Regions from separate parts of the Homo sapiens genome. Here regions 2 and 3 are each linked to region 1. The links are contacts of gene promoters, found by promoter capture Hi-C in blood cells and fetal thymus (Javierre and others, 2016). All regions are on one chromosome and are shown on one strand. Each heading gives the region's core, a stretch centred on a gene start or on the middle of the fragment in contact. The rest is flanking DNA. Distances are from core to core; before and after follow the strand shown.

Region 1 (4,312 bases), core at 730-3,229:
GGTACATAAATACCTACAAGATAGAAAGTGTAAATGCCGCGAGAGATGTGCAGAAAAAGCATTACAGGAGCCCAGAGGGAGCTGTTACCACCTCACAGAAATATAACCCCTTCAATCTGTTTAAAACAATTTTATAACTATTAACTCCCTTTAGGCTCACAACAGCCAACCCTAGGAGAGTAGATGTTTACCTAATATTCAAGATGAGGAAACTGAAGCACAGAAAGGTTGATCAAGTTCCAAAATCACATAGTTAGAGCAAGAATCAAGATACTTTGTATTATATTTTCTCCGGGGGAGTAGTTCAACATATGGCAAGCCTTTTGTAAAAGGAAAGAGTATTTTAGTATTGTAAGTAATCAGTTCCTACTGTGAGCATTTTATACATAGCTATATCCATATATACAATTAATCTTGATTTCCATTAACAGGTGTGCTTAAAGCAAGGCCAAGCAACTGGGTACTATAAATATTAAAACAAATAAATAAACTTCCACCGGATGTTAACAGAAAAAGAAAAAAAGATACAAGATTTCTCTCTCCAGTAACTTGCGGTTACTTCTTCTGTAATTGTTACCCTTGTCTAAATAACATTCTAAAATTGGTCTGCTCCTGAGCCCGGGCAAGTACAAGTTGGTTCATCCAATAAATATCTTCATGAAAAGGTACATCAAAACATTTTAAAAAGCTATTAAAAATTAAACGATGCCATCAACTCTTCAGTTATCCACAGGACAATCACATGTGACCCAGCATCAGCAGCTATTGATCAAGATATATTGAACGAATGAATGAATCTTTGTAGGCATTTTTAAATCCCGGGCCTGTTGCTCCTTGCACAGTGCCATGTTCAGCCTTCCATCACTGCCTCACCAGGGTGCACACAAGGAATGTAAATTTCAATATAATTAGGATATAATTAGAGAAGCAAATCTGATGCAGGTTTACATACTAATCCCAAAGATTAGAATTACCTATACTACTACTCTCCAAGGTTAACTCTGTGGAAGAGGCACCGCAGCATGCAACATCACATAAAGAAAACTGACACTTCCTGAGCAAATAGTTTTCGTCCATATCACTTATTCCCATCCATTCCTTTAATACATGACTATTCCTGATCCAGTTAATTTGAAGAATTCAGTCTCCTCTCCATAAAGGCTGATTTCACAACTACAGTTTCTCAAATTCCTCTCTCCCCAAAAAGGGGTGCACTTACGGACTTCGCTTAAGAAAACACCAACAATAAACGGCAGAAGGTATAGTGTTCGGATCTTTGCCATCTCCACCAGTACCCAGCCTTCGCCATTACACCCTGAAGCGGTCTGTTAGAAAGGTGAACTAATTTACTCTGCACGCACTTGTCCATGGCTGTCAACCTCCGCAGCCCCTTCTACACTTCCAAGTCGGCCACCAACTCCGCCTCAGTGAGCCCAGGCCCGCCACCTGCGCCGGCCCCACCCGGGGCACCGGCTGCCCGCTCTCCCTCGCAGGCCCTGTAGGCTCCGCACGCCCCTCCGCACAGGACACCTCGGGGCCAGCCCCGGCCCGGCCACAGCCCATTCTTCCTCCAAACTCCATAAGCCTCCGCTAGCCCAGCCCGAGCTCCCCGCCGCGCCCGGCTCTCTCCTGGGCTGCCGAGTGGAAGAGGCCAGGCGGCCAGGACGGGTCCCGACCTGCCCAGGCCTGCGACACCCCCCGCCCGGCGGAGAAACCGTCCCAGCGGCTGCTGCCCCGGGAGCCCTCGGAAGCCCCCGGACTAGCAGGAGCCCGGAGGCCGGGGTTGCAGGCGCCAGGGCCTACTCACCGGGAGCTGGCTAAGCGTGGGAGCCGACGTGCGCCCCGGCCTGAGGAGTGGGACGCGGCCACGGCGCGCGGCCCTACACCGGGACCTCGTTCGGCGCGGCGAGTCGGACGCTCACTCCAGCCGCCGCCGCCGCCGCGGCTGCTGCTTCGCCACCTTGGCCGCCATCTTGACTCAACCCCTCTCCCTCCCCCCAGCCCGCGGAGCCGCGGCTAAGGCGGCTCCAGCGCCGGCTCCTCCTCCTTCCGGAGAGTTGGGAGACCAACTCCCTCCGCTGGCCGGGCGCCTCTCCTACCTCGGCGGAGCTTCCCGGGTCGCGCTGCGCCCGGTCTCTTCATGTCTCCTCTAGGCCTGGCAGCGGCGGTCCTCTCGGACGGATACGGGGCCGAGCAGCGCCCAGCCGGATCCAGCGCTGCTGCCATCGTGCCCTGGGCTTGTGCGCCCCCCGCCTGCCCGTCTGTTCCGCGCGCCCGAGGCCTTCCTCAGGCGTGGGAAAAGGAAAAACTCCAGGCCGTGGAAGGGACCCTGCAAACCCCTCCGCGGCGTGGTGGGGCGGCGGCGGCCTCCTCTGGCCGGAGCTGCGTACAGGGAAGCCGGTCCCCTCGTGGCTGGGAGCTGGAGGGGTGCATTTCGACCTGCCCAAGATACTTTCTAGGGCTCTGGCTGGAATTCGCACCAAGCCCTCACTGAAATGCTGGGCGAGGCCGATTTGTCCACGATGTTGCTCCTTAACCTTAAGTTACTTGCAAGAGGAGCCTGTGGCCCTCGCGACTGTTAAGTGCACGCTCAGCCTCACCCTGCTGGGGAAACGACGGTTCCTCGTAACCGCACGCATACGTTCCTTTAGAAAAGCCAGGCCCGACCGGACGCAGTGGGTCACGCTTGTAATCCCAGCACTTAGGGAGGCCGAGGCGGGCCATCACTTAAGGTCAGGAGTTCGAGACCAGCCTGACGAACATGGAGAAACCCCGTCACTACTAAAAATACAAAAATTAAGCGGGCGTGGTGGCGCGCGCCAGTAATCCCAGCTACTGGGGAGACCGAAGTGGGAGAATTGCTTGAACGCGGGAGGCTGAGGTAGCAGCGAACCTAGGTCGCGCCACTGCACTCCAGCCTGGGCGACGGAGCCAGACCGTTTCAAAAAAAAAAAAGAAAGGGCCGGGCGCGGTGGCTCAGGCCTGTAATCCCAGCACTTTGGGAGGCCGAGGCGAGCGGATCACGAAGTCAGGAGTTCGAGACCAGCCTAGTTAACATGGTGAAACCCCCTCTCTACTAAAAATACAAAAATTAGCTGGGCGTGGTGGCGCGCGCCTATAGTCCCAGCTACTCGGGAGGCTGAGGCAGAAGAGTCGCTTGAACCCGGGAGACAGAGGTTGCAGTGAGCCGAGATCGCTCCACTGCACTCCAGCCTGGGCGACAGAGCCTCTCAAAAAAAAAAAAAAAGGTAAAGAAAGCCATCCAAAAGTGAGAAGGAATAACAAAGTTGGTGTAACTGGCTATTTTGGAAAACTGTCATACGGATAACGGGCTGTCTAACCCTATAATTACGAGAAAGGCCCGAGTTTTAAGAAATGAATTCGAAAATGAAGAGGAAGGAACTCTTCCTATAAGTGGGAGCTTATATATAAGACGCTTCCTTTTAAACCGATTGTACAGTGTGGTAGGACTAGGGTAGGAAACTGGACGGCATGGAGACTTCTGTGTTAAAACACAAGAGAACCCTTAACGTTAAAACCTCAAGCTTCCGGAGCATGTCGGCGGGAGGGACTTAACAGCGGAACCCAACATTCCCCGGTGAAGTTTTCCAGCCGGAGTCAGGGTCAGAGGCAGCCTTTCCTACTGCGCAGGCTCAGTGCTGCTTACCCATCATGGAAGCAATGTGGCTCCTGTGTGTGGCGTTGGCGGTCTTGGCATGGGGCTTCCTCTGGGTTTGGGACTCCTCAGAACGAATGAAGAGTCGGGAGCAGGGAGGACGGCTGGGAGCCGAAAGCCGGACCCTGCTGGTCATAGCGCACCCTGACGATGAAGCCATGTTTTTTGCTCCCACAGTGCTAGGCTTGGCCCGCCTAAGGCACTGGGTGTACCTGCTTTGCTTCTCTGCAGGTAGGAGGCCATAGGAGGGGCGATGGGAGCCGGGGCTTTGAAAGGGATTTAAGTGCTAACCGATCTCAGTCGCCTTCTTCTCGAAGTTTTCCGTAGGGAGCTAAGTGAATACACCGAAGGTCTTACCTCTGAACCCCTCACAGCCTAGGGACAGGAGCGGCCGGCTTACCTGGTGGGTTGGGGGACGTCGGCAGCTCGCGTACTACGCCAGCAGGATTGAGGAGCAGAGAAACAGTTGCAGTTGGTTGTATTCAGTACCTGCATTTCCGTTGGGAACTCCACCTGTACTTGTTATTCTGTGGAACTTTTTTTTATTTGTAGAAGGAGCAAGAATATTGACCTTACTATATAGCACACGAAACAATCTATGCTGTATCGTGCCTGCTCAATCCTTAAAGTTAACTT
Region 2 (4,312 bases), core at 1,133-3,632, 81 kb before region 1:
CAGACAATATCTTAAGCCTATCTTATCAAAATTTATTAACAATTAGTGCTCCTAAGCCAACTGAATTTCAGACTAACTTCCTGAAGAGTGAAAGCTGTCAATCACCAAAAAACACACTGTGGCAATGGCAATAAAGATAACAGTGGCTACCATTTATTGGGCACTCTCTGTGCCTGACTCTGCACTCCAGGGACTTTACACACATACCCAGTTCTTATTAACCATGCAACCTAAGTATCACTGACCCCACTCTCATGAATGTGGAAACCAAGGCTCACCAAGTGAAAGGACCCACCTAGAGTCACATAGGTACAATTGGGCAGAGCACTCTGGGGCTAGAGTTCTTGCTGATATAATAAACTTCTTAACTTGTCTAAAATAATCTTTCTATCTAGTGACTAGCTAACAGTTTAGTCAGAAAATTCCTCCAATTTCAAAATTGCTATATTTACCTAAGTATATGCTTCTGAATACCTTTAGGGAATAAAAACACACTGGCATAAAGGGGAAAATGGTGTTAGCATAAAAGAAGGGCATGAATTCCTGTGGAAAGTAATCAAGCATTTGGAAATGAAGAATATGGTTTCTAACATGACTTGCTTTACTGCAGGTAACTAGCAAGTACCACAGTAATTCTACCTGCACAGTGACAGACTTACCAGATGGCAGTTTATGTTGGAAAAATGCAGCATTTACTAGGGGAAGAAACTCTTACTGCTAGCAAGAACAATGTACATAGAATCAAACTATTACGTAGGGCATAATCCTAGATCCTAAATAATAACATTCAACAGTGGTTTTTGGCTTCCAATCTCCAATATGTATTCATTACTTCAACAAAAACATATAGAGAACCACACTCACTCTCCATGGAATGGTAACAAGCTGAACTATAAAAATGGGTTGGGGTAGTCTCTATCAGAATTTGGAGAGAAGAGTTAAAATTCCTGCCAAGAATAACCTCTGAACACAATTTTAACAAAAATATAAACATCTGTCTCATTTTCCTATGAGTCTAAGATTAAAACTCATTTTCAGAGTAAACACTACTAAGCTTCCCTATAGCAACAGGTTTTAAAAAATCAAACTTTGCAAACTTAGAATCTATCAATAGCAAACTACACTTTTTTTTTTTTTTTTTTCCTGAGATGGAGTCTTGCTCTGGGATTCTAGGCATGAGCCACCACGTCCAGTCTGGCTTTTCTTGCTTTCCTTCCTTCCTTTCCCTCCTTCCTTCCCTCCCTCCCTTCCTTCTTCTTCTTCTTTTTTCCCTCCCTCCCTTCCTTCCTTTTCTCTTTCTCTCTTCTTTCTTTTTTTTCCAGACGGGGTCTTGCTCTGTCACCCAGGTGGGAGTGCAGTGGCATGATCTAGGCTCGCTGCAACCTCTGCTTCCCAGGTTCAAGCGATTTTTCTACCTCAGCCTCCAGAATAGCTGAGATTATAGGTGTGCACCACCACTCCAGGCTAATTTTTGCATTTTCAATAGAGACAGGGTTTCAGCATGTTGCCCAGGCTGGTCTCGAATTCCTGACCTCAAGTGATCCACCCGCCCTGGACTCCCAAAGTGTTGAGATCACAAGCGTGAGCCATCGCACCCAGCCACACACTATACATTTATCTGCTGAATAAAAATTACTTCCTACAAAAAGGAGGCTGGGAGTAGAGGATAGGGAGAGTAATCAAACTCATATTGACAGGATCAAGCATAAACTTCAGCAGAACTTTAAAGAATCTTTAAGTAAACATGCCATAATGGCTGTGAGATCACCTGAGCTAAACCCTCCTGACTAGAGCTTGGTTACATAGCAGAGAAGTAAAGTGATTTTCAAATTAGTTGGATCTCTGTATCCACCAGGGTAAAATCAAGGGAGTTGATACATAGATTTTGAAAATCTTAACCTTGCAATTCAATTCTGTTTTTAAAAAGAAGTATTCTAACCTTTTTTCTATATAGCAAATTCTATATCTTTAACCCAGATCTTTTTCCTACACTCCAGACTTATATGTCTAACTATCCACTTTACTTGGACCTCATTTGGATCTCTGCTTAGACACCTAATAGGTATTTCATATTCAGCCATGTCCTGATTTTCCCCTCAAAACCTGCTCCTCCTTCAGTCATGCCTGTCACAGCAAATGGCAACTCCACAGGTCAAAACTTGTTTTCCTTGATTATTGTCCTTTCCTCATCCCCACAATCAATCCATCAGCAAAATCTCGTGGTTTTACCTTCAAAAGTACATCCAGAAACTAATCCGTTCTCCCCGCCTCCTCACTGTAGCCTAGTCCAAGTCAATGGGATTATTAAAACAACCTCCTAACTGGTTTCTCTGCTTCTTCTCTTGTCTCCTTACAAACTATTCTCAACAGAGCAACCAGAGTAATCATGTCACAACTGAAATCTGGCAGCCCTCTTTTGCTCAAAACCCCAGTGGCTTCTTCTCTCACCTGGTATCAGCTCAAAAGGCCTTCAGTTTTACACAGAGAGCCCTTAAACTAACACCACCTAATTTCTGAAAAGCTGCCCCTCTATTTTGACACAAATAAATGGAATAAGTATACAAACAATTAAGAAACAATGGTAAATCTGGTGGCATGAGATGATGGTCTAAATTCATTTAACTCACACCTCTCCCAAATTCCCCGTGAAACAACCAGAGAAATGTAAAATTGGAGGAAAAATCTTCAAAGCAATAACTTAAAAGCTAATGAGGGCAGAGCTAGCCTACCAGAAGTGCTGACCAACCCAAAACTGAGCCTACCTGGGGGTAAGCAACCTAAGGCTCAGGTCAAGGTGAGGGTATACATGGCAATTCTCACATCTGCAAATACATTCTGAGACAGGTACTTTGAAACATGCAACAAGAATGTACAGAAGAGAACACCAACATGGCTGGATCTTAACAAGGATCGGTGTGCCACAGAGAGGAGTGAAACTGTGTCCCAGACAACTTTAGGAAAGAAACGACTGTTTCAGAATAACAAACATCCGTGCCCCATAGAACTTCCTGCTAGAGCTCTCTCCTCTATCATCATGGGCAACTGGCTGCTAATCTGGCAAAGGTTAAGGTACACTGTATAAGTATCACCTTATCTCTTACGTTAATGTAGGACTGAACATTTTAAACAGTAACATATATAATTTCTAAAGATAAAGTTATAAATACTATTTGGCAATTAGGAACAAAACTGTTAGAAATTTGCAGCTGAGGCCGGGCGCCGTGGCTCATGCCTGTAATCCCAGCACTTTGGGAGGCCGAGGCGGGCAGATCACGAGGTCAGGAGATCGAGACCATCCTGACTAACACGGTGAAACCCCGTCTCTACTAAATATACAAAAAATGAACCAGATGTGGTGGCGGGTGCCGGTAGTCCCAGCTACTCAGGAGGCTGGGGCAGCAGAATGGCATGAACCCGGGAGGTGGAGCTTGCAGTGAGCCAAGATCGCACCACTGCACTCCAGCCTGGGCGACAGAGCGAGACTCCATCTCAAAAAAAAAAAAAAAAAAAAAAAACTGTAGCTGAAACTTGTTTAAAACATAGATGGTCCCTATGATCTCTAGCTAAAAGGGTATTACAGGACCTTGATTCCACATTCTTTAGGGGAAGCAGGAAGAAAAGCCCTGGCAATATTCTTCTCTCTGGTGGAATAGTGCTTCCTATTTCACTGTCAACACTCAATTTATTCCTTTTCTGTCAGTACATCTTTATGAAGCTTGGCAAGCACCCATCCTTTGTCTTACGGTACTGCACCCATCAGTGTACAAGTATGCCCTTTATCCTCCCTTCTCTGATCCTCATTAGCCCTACCGACCCATTTCACTATTCCACTTTATAAAAAAATTTTAAAAACAAGGTTGCACTTGTACTAATGCCACTTCCTCACCTTCTGTATCTTCTTCAACTCTGTGTAACCGTGTTTCTGCCCCCTCACTAATTCACTGAAAATCCACGTCTAAGGCACCTTGGCTTACTCAACCTCTAACAGCATTTTACACAGTTGACTCATGAAACACTCGCTATACTTTTTTAAACAAGAAATACTGTTTCCAAAGAGCATGTAATCACATCATGTGGGGTGGTGGTGTTCTGTGGGAAATAATGACCCAGAAAACATAAAAAGGTTATAGCTGTGAATACTGAGAGAACTGGGTCAATAACCTATATCTGGTAACCAGGGGCTATCAAACGAAGAAAGGGAGTAAGACCCCACCCCAACAAAAGGGTGGCTGAGTGGGAAAACCAGAAGAGATTTAATAATGCTAATGAATCGTTGCAGTGTCGGAGCTCATGCATGCAAGTCCTTATTGTA
Region 3 (4,312 bases), core at 956-3,455, 80 kb after region 1:
TTTGCCCTTTTGCCCAATGTATACACTTTTTAACCCATAATCTGTTTTATAAAATTGCAATCTTTCGGCCTGGCGCAGTGGCTCACGCCTGTAATCCCAGCACTTTGGAAGGCCAAGGTGGGTGGATCACGAGGTCAGGAGATCCAGTCCATCCTGGCTAACACGGTGAAACCCCGTCTCTACTAAAAATCCAAAAACAAACTTAGCCGGGTGTGGTGGCGGGCGCCTGTAGTCCCAGCTACTCGGGTGGCTGAGGCAGGAGAATGGCGTGAAGCCAGGAGGCGGAGGTTGCAGTGAGCCGAGATCGCACCACTGCACTCCAGCCTGGGTGACAGAAGGAGACTCCGTCTCAAAAAAGAAAAAAAAATTGCAATCTTTCAAACATCTTGCTTACATGCATCAGCCCCCAGTGGCTGGTATAATTCCCTTTGGTTCATCCAAATATAGAGTACTTCTGTCAAGCAACTAGTGCTTGTTAAACCCCCTAACACACTTCCTTGCATAGGGTAGAAGCACAATTACTTATTGTTTATTTATTTTAAAAAATTGTTCATTGACTTGAGTTGTACCATGTACCACCTAAGAAATAGAAGAATAAGGCACAGGCCTAGTCTTATATTTTAAGTTTAGCTAAAGAGACACACAAAACAACAGAAAATAATAGAATACTATTCAAATCAGGTACGAAGTGGGGTAGTCTAAGCTATAGTTGGTAGAGGAGTTCAGTGAAGGTTTCTAAATACAAGGAAGGTGTGTAGTAAAGAATTTGGCCTTGTCCAATGAGAGATCTGGTCTCTCATTGGCTTTTGGGAGGTTATCTGTGTCATACCTGATAGCAGTGTCTTTGCTCTGTGAGGGAAGCTCACTTGGAGAAAGGCTCACAGGAACAGGTGTTGCTCCACGCCTTTCTTTTAGTGGCTCCACCCCCTGATAGTGGGTGAGATCAATCATTTGCTTATGACACAGTCCTAGACTTAAGAGTTGGAAGGACTCTCAGGCAGTCATCAGGTGCATCCCAGAATTATTTTATCTTTACTGATGATGCAGCTCCTGCCAGGTCACATGGAAAGCAGGGGAGCTAGAACTCGGGTTCTGTGTCATCCTACCCCATGTTCTCTCTGCCACATCACATTGCCTGCTCGTGACACTGGACCACTGTAATCATGGACGGTACTCTGTCCCTGAGCTTCTGGGGTGAAACTGGCTATTAACCCTTGCCATGTCTCCCTTCCCTGAGCCTTGAATCCTGCTTGCCCTGTGGTGCCCCCATGTCCCCCAGTACGGTTCTCCCCGCTGCCCTCTATAACCAAGCACCTGGCAGGTTATTGCTTTTCCATAAAGCTGGAAAACTCTTAGACAGTGAGAGGCAGGTGGCCAGACTGCTGCTGTCCTTTGAAGGTTTAGGGCCAAGACTGAGCAGCAATTGAAAGTATCCATTGAACACCTGCTGTGAGTAAGACATCGCCTCTATCTTAAGCCTTTGCTCTATTCCAATGGAAACTACAGTTTCCAGGCTCCCATGTCCATTGGCTTCTGGAGGGGTTTGACCAGTAGATGGCAATGATGGATGACTAGGAGGTAGCAGAGGGAAGAACCAGGTATTTCCCCCATCCTCCACCCTAAGTGGCATGTCCATCAGCAGGTTGGTGTTTTCCCTGACATCTAGCTAGTTCTCCTGACATCTAGTTCCCACCACTGCTCCCCTTCCATGGCTCTGCTGTCCCCTATCTTAGAGGTGGTGGTGCCCTTCTGCTGTGGCCAGTCTCTGCGTTGTTTCACTGTTTCCTGTTTGGCCTCTCAGCTCTTCCCATACAGTGGGTAAACAGGTCTCTATATTAAATTCCTTCTGAAATACCTGGTGGTCTCCATTTTCTTGGTTAGACCTTGACTGATTAATGGCTCATGTAACATCCGTCCATCGGGGGACTTATGATAGGTTGGAGAGTCAAGAATTAAATATATGCAGCCTGTAATCCCAGCACTTTGGGAGGCTGAGGCGGGCGGATCATCTGAGGTCAGGAGTTCTAGACCAGCCTGGCCAACATGGTGAAACCCTGTCTGTACTGAAAATACAAAAACTAGCCAGGCATGGTGGCGCACGCCTGTAATCCCGATTACTGACAGGCTGAGGCAGGAGAATCGCTTGAACCCAGGTGGCGGAGGTTGCAGTGAGCTGAGATCATGCCACTGCACTCCAACCTAGGTGACAGAGCAAGACTCCGTCTCAAAAAAAAAAAAAAAAGTATATATATATATGTATGTAAAATACTAGTAAAATAAAATGTAGAGATTCCATACATGTACTAAAAATCACTGAGTTATTAGCTGGGCTTGGTGGCTCACACCTGTAATCTCAGCTACTTGGGAGGCTGAGGTGGGAGGATCACTTGAGCCTGGAAGTCAAGGCTCCAGTGAGCTGTGATTGTACCACCGCATTCCAGCCTGGGTGACAGAGCAAGACTCTGTCTCAAAAAAATAAATTATCAGCCAGGTGTGGTGGCTCACGCCTGTACTCCCAGCACTTTGGGAGGCCAAGGTGGGTGGATCACGAGGTCAGGAGTTTGAGACCAGCCTGGCCAATATGGTGAAACCCTGTCTCTACTAAAAATACAAAATTAGCTGGGCATGGTGGCACATGCCTGTAATCCCAGCTACTCGGGAAGCTGAGGCAAGAGAATCACTTGAACCGGGGAGGCAGAGGTTGCAGTGAGCTAGGATGGTGCCATTGCATTCCAGCCTAGGCAACAAGACCGAAACACCATCTCAAAAATAAATAAATAAAATAAAATATTCAGGAGAAAAAATGAAAAATGAAGAGTGAGTAGATTAGACTAGTGATCTCCAAACATTTTTATCACACTCCCCTAATGGCAAGAAACAACATTTGAGCTTGCACCTCCATATTTATGTACTTATTTATTCAAACTGTGTACATGTTAAACCCTGTTGGTATATGATGCCTTATAAAATAGCTACAAAATATAAATGTAAACAGAAAAACAGGTAAATAGAAGTCCTGGTGATTCATTGCTTTACCTCAATGAGTCATCTTACACATCTCCTGTGGTGCCTACCCCACTTTGAAATCATAAACCGCTTGTAGAAGTGGCCATCAAAGAGCTCTGCAAGGGACTGCAAGAAAGAAGGACTGGGGGCCAGGTGCAGTGGCTCACACCTGTAATCCCAGCACTTTGGGAGACTGAGGTGGGCGGATCACAAGGTCAGGAGTTTGAGACCAGCCTGGCCAATATGGTGAAACCCCGTCTTTACTAAAAATACAAAAATTAGCTGAGCATGGTGGCAGGTGTCTGTAGTCCCAGCTACTGGGGAGGCTGAGGCAGGAGAATCCCTTGAACCTGGGAGGCGGAGGTTGCAGTGAGCTGAGATTGCTCCACTGCACTCCAGCCTGGGCAACAGAGTGAGACTCCATCTCAAAAAAAAAAAAGAAAAAAGAAAGAAAGACTGGGGAGTTCTTTCTTTTTTTTTTAAAGGAGGGTTTAAATTAGGCTAATGCAGCAATAACAGCCACACTTTTGATGTTTACACATTTCTTTACAGTTCTTGAAGTCTCGCTCTGTTGCCCAGGCTGGAGTGCAGTGGCACGGTCTCGGCTGACTGCAAGCTCCACCTCCCAGGTTCACACCACTCTCCTGCCTCAGCCTCCCAAGTAGCTGGGACTACAGGCGCCCGCCACCACGCCCGGCTAATTTTTTTTTTGTATTTTTAGTAGAGATGGGGTTTCACCGTGTTAGCCAGGATGGTCTCAATCTCCTGACCTCGTGATCCGCCCGCCTCGGCCTCCCAAAGTGCTGGGATTACAGGCGTGAGCCACCGTTCCGGCCCTTTTTACAGTTCTTAAATGCTTTCTGACCTGTGTTATCTCATTGACTCTTTCAAATAATGAGAAAGGAAGTGAATCAAAATAGGAGATAGATTGGGGAAAACTTGAACGTGTGACCAAGAGGAGTTTGGACTTGATCATAAAAGTAATGATGCTTTATCAGATGTGTCACATCACAGAGCAGATATTTACAGTCCAAAGTCCCTCCCTAAATGATTGGCCTCACCCACAATGACTGGGTGGAGCCACCGAAAGAAAGGCATGGAGCAACACTTCTTCCTGCATCGCCCCTCAAAAGAGCAGATCCCAGTTCTCTGAAGATAAATGGAAGGCAGCCATGAACTTCCCCCTCTTTGAGGTTTATCTTTCAGCACCTTAGCACCTCAGAACAACAGAGAATTAGTAGGCTTAGCCTACTATCCTCCTATCCTTTCTCTCGTGTGCTAAAGTTCCATACAATATTACTGGTGT

The links. The method cuts DNA at HindIII sites, captures the fragments that hold promoters and counts their contacts. A CHiCAGO score of 5 or more calls a contact.
Region 2: a contact is called between a fragment that was not itself captured here and the fragment with the promoter of NCOR1 in region 1, in 1 of 17 cell types (M2 macrophages). The highest score is 5.8, in M2 macrophages.
Region 3: a fragment that was not itself captured here is called in contact with the fragment with the promoter of NCOR1 in region 1 in 10 of 17 cell types (M2 macrophages, M0 macrophages, megakaryocytes and 7 more); the score reaches 12.6 in M2 macrophages.

The regions. Positions count from the first base shown.
Region 1 is chr17:16,213,555-16,217,866 of GRCh38, forward strand. It overlaps NCOR1 (nuclear receptor corepressor 1), which reads right to left and starts at 1,980. Exons shown (of 46, transcript NM_006311.4): 1 at 1,808-1,980. PIGL (phosphatidylinositol glycan anchor biosynthesis class L) reads left to right here and starts at 3,656. Exons shown (of 7, transcript NM_004278.4): 1 at 3,656-3,907. The coding sequence starts at 3,673. RefSeq lists enhancers at 776-1,692, 1,693-2,608, 2,186-2,245, 3,432-3,681 and a silencer at 1,446-1,915. The HindIII fragment of the contact is 4,024 bases long and covers 1-3,543 here.
Region 2 is chr17:16,131,668-16,135,979 of GRCh38, forward strand. The region is part of intron 14 of NCOR1 (nuclear receptor corepressor 1); the gene reads right to left. Among named protein-coding and RNA genes, the nearest start is that of SNORD163, 19 kb to the right of the region's middle. The HindIII fragment of the contact is 2,661 bases long and covers 1,053-3,713 here.
Region 3 is chr17:16,293,177-16,297,488 of GRCh38, forward strand. The region is part of intron 2 of PIGL (phosphatidylinositol glycan anchor biosynthesis class L); the gene reads left to right. Among named protein-coding and RNA genes, the nearest start is that of MIR1288, 13 kb to the left of the region's middle. The HindIII fragment of the contact is 8,760 bases long and covers 1-4,312 here.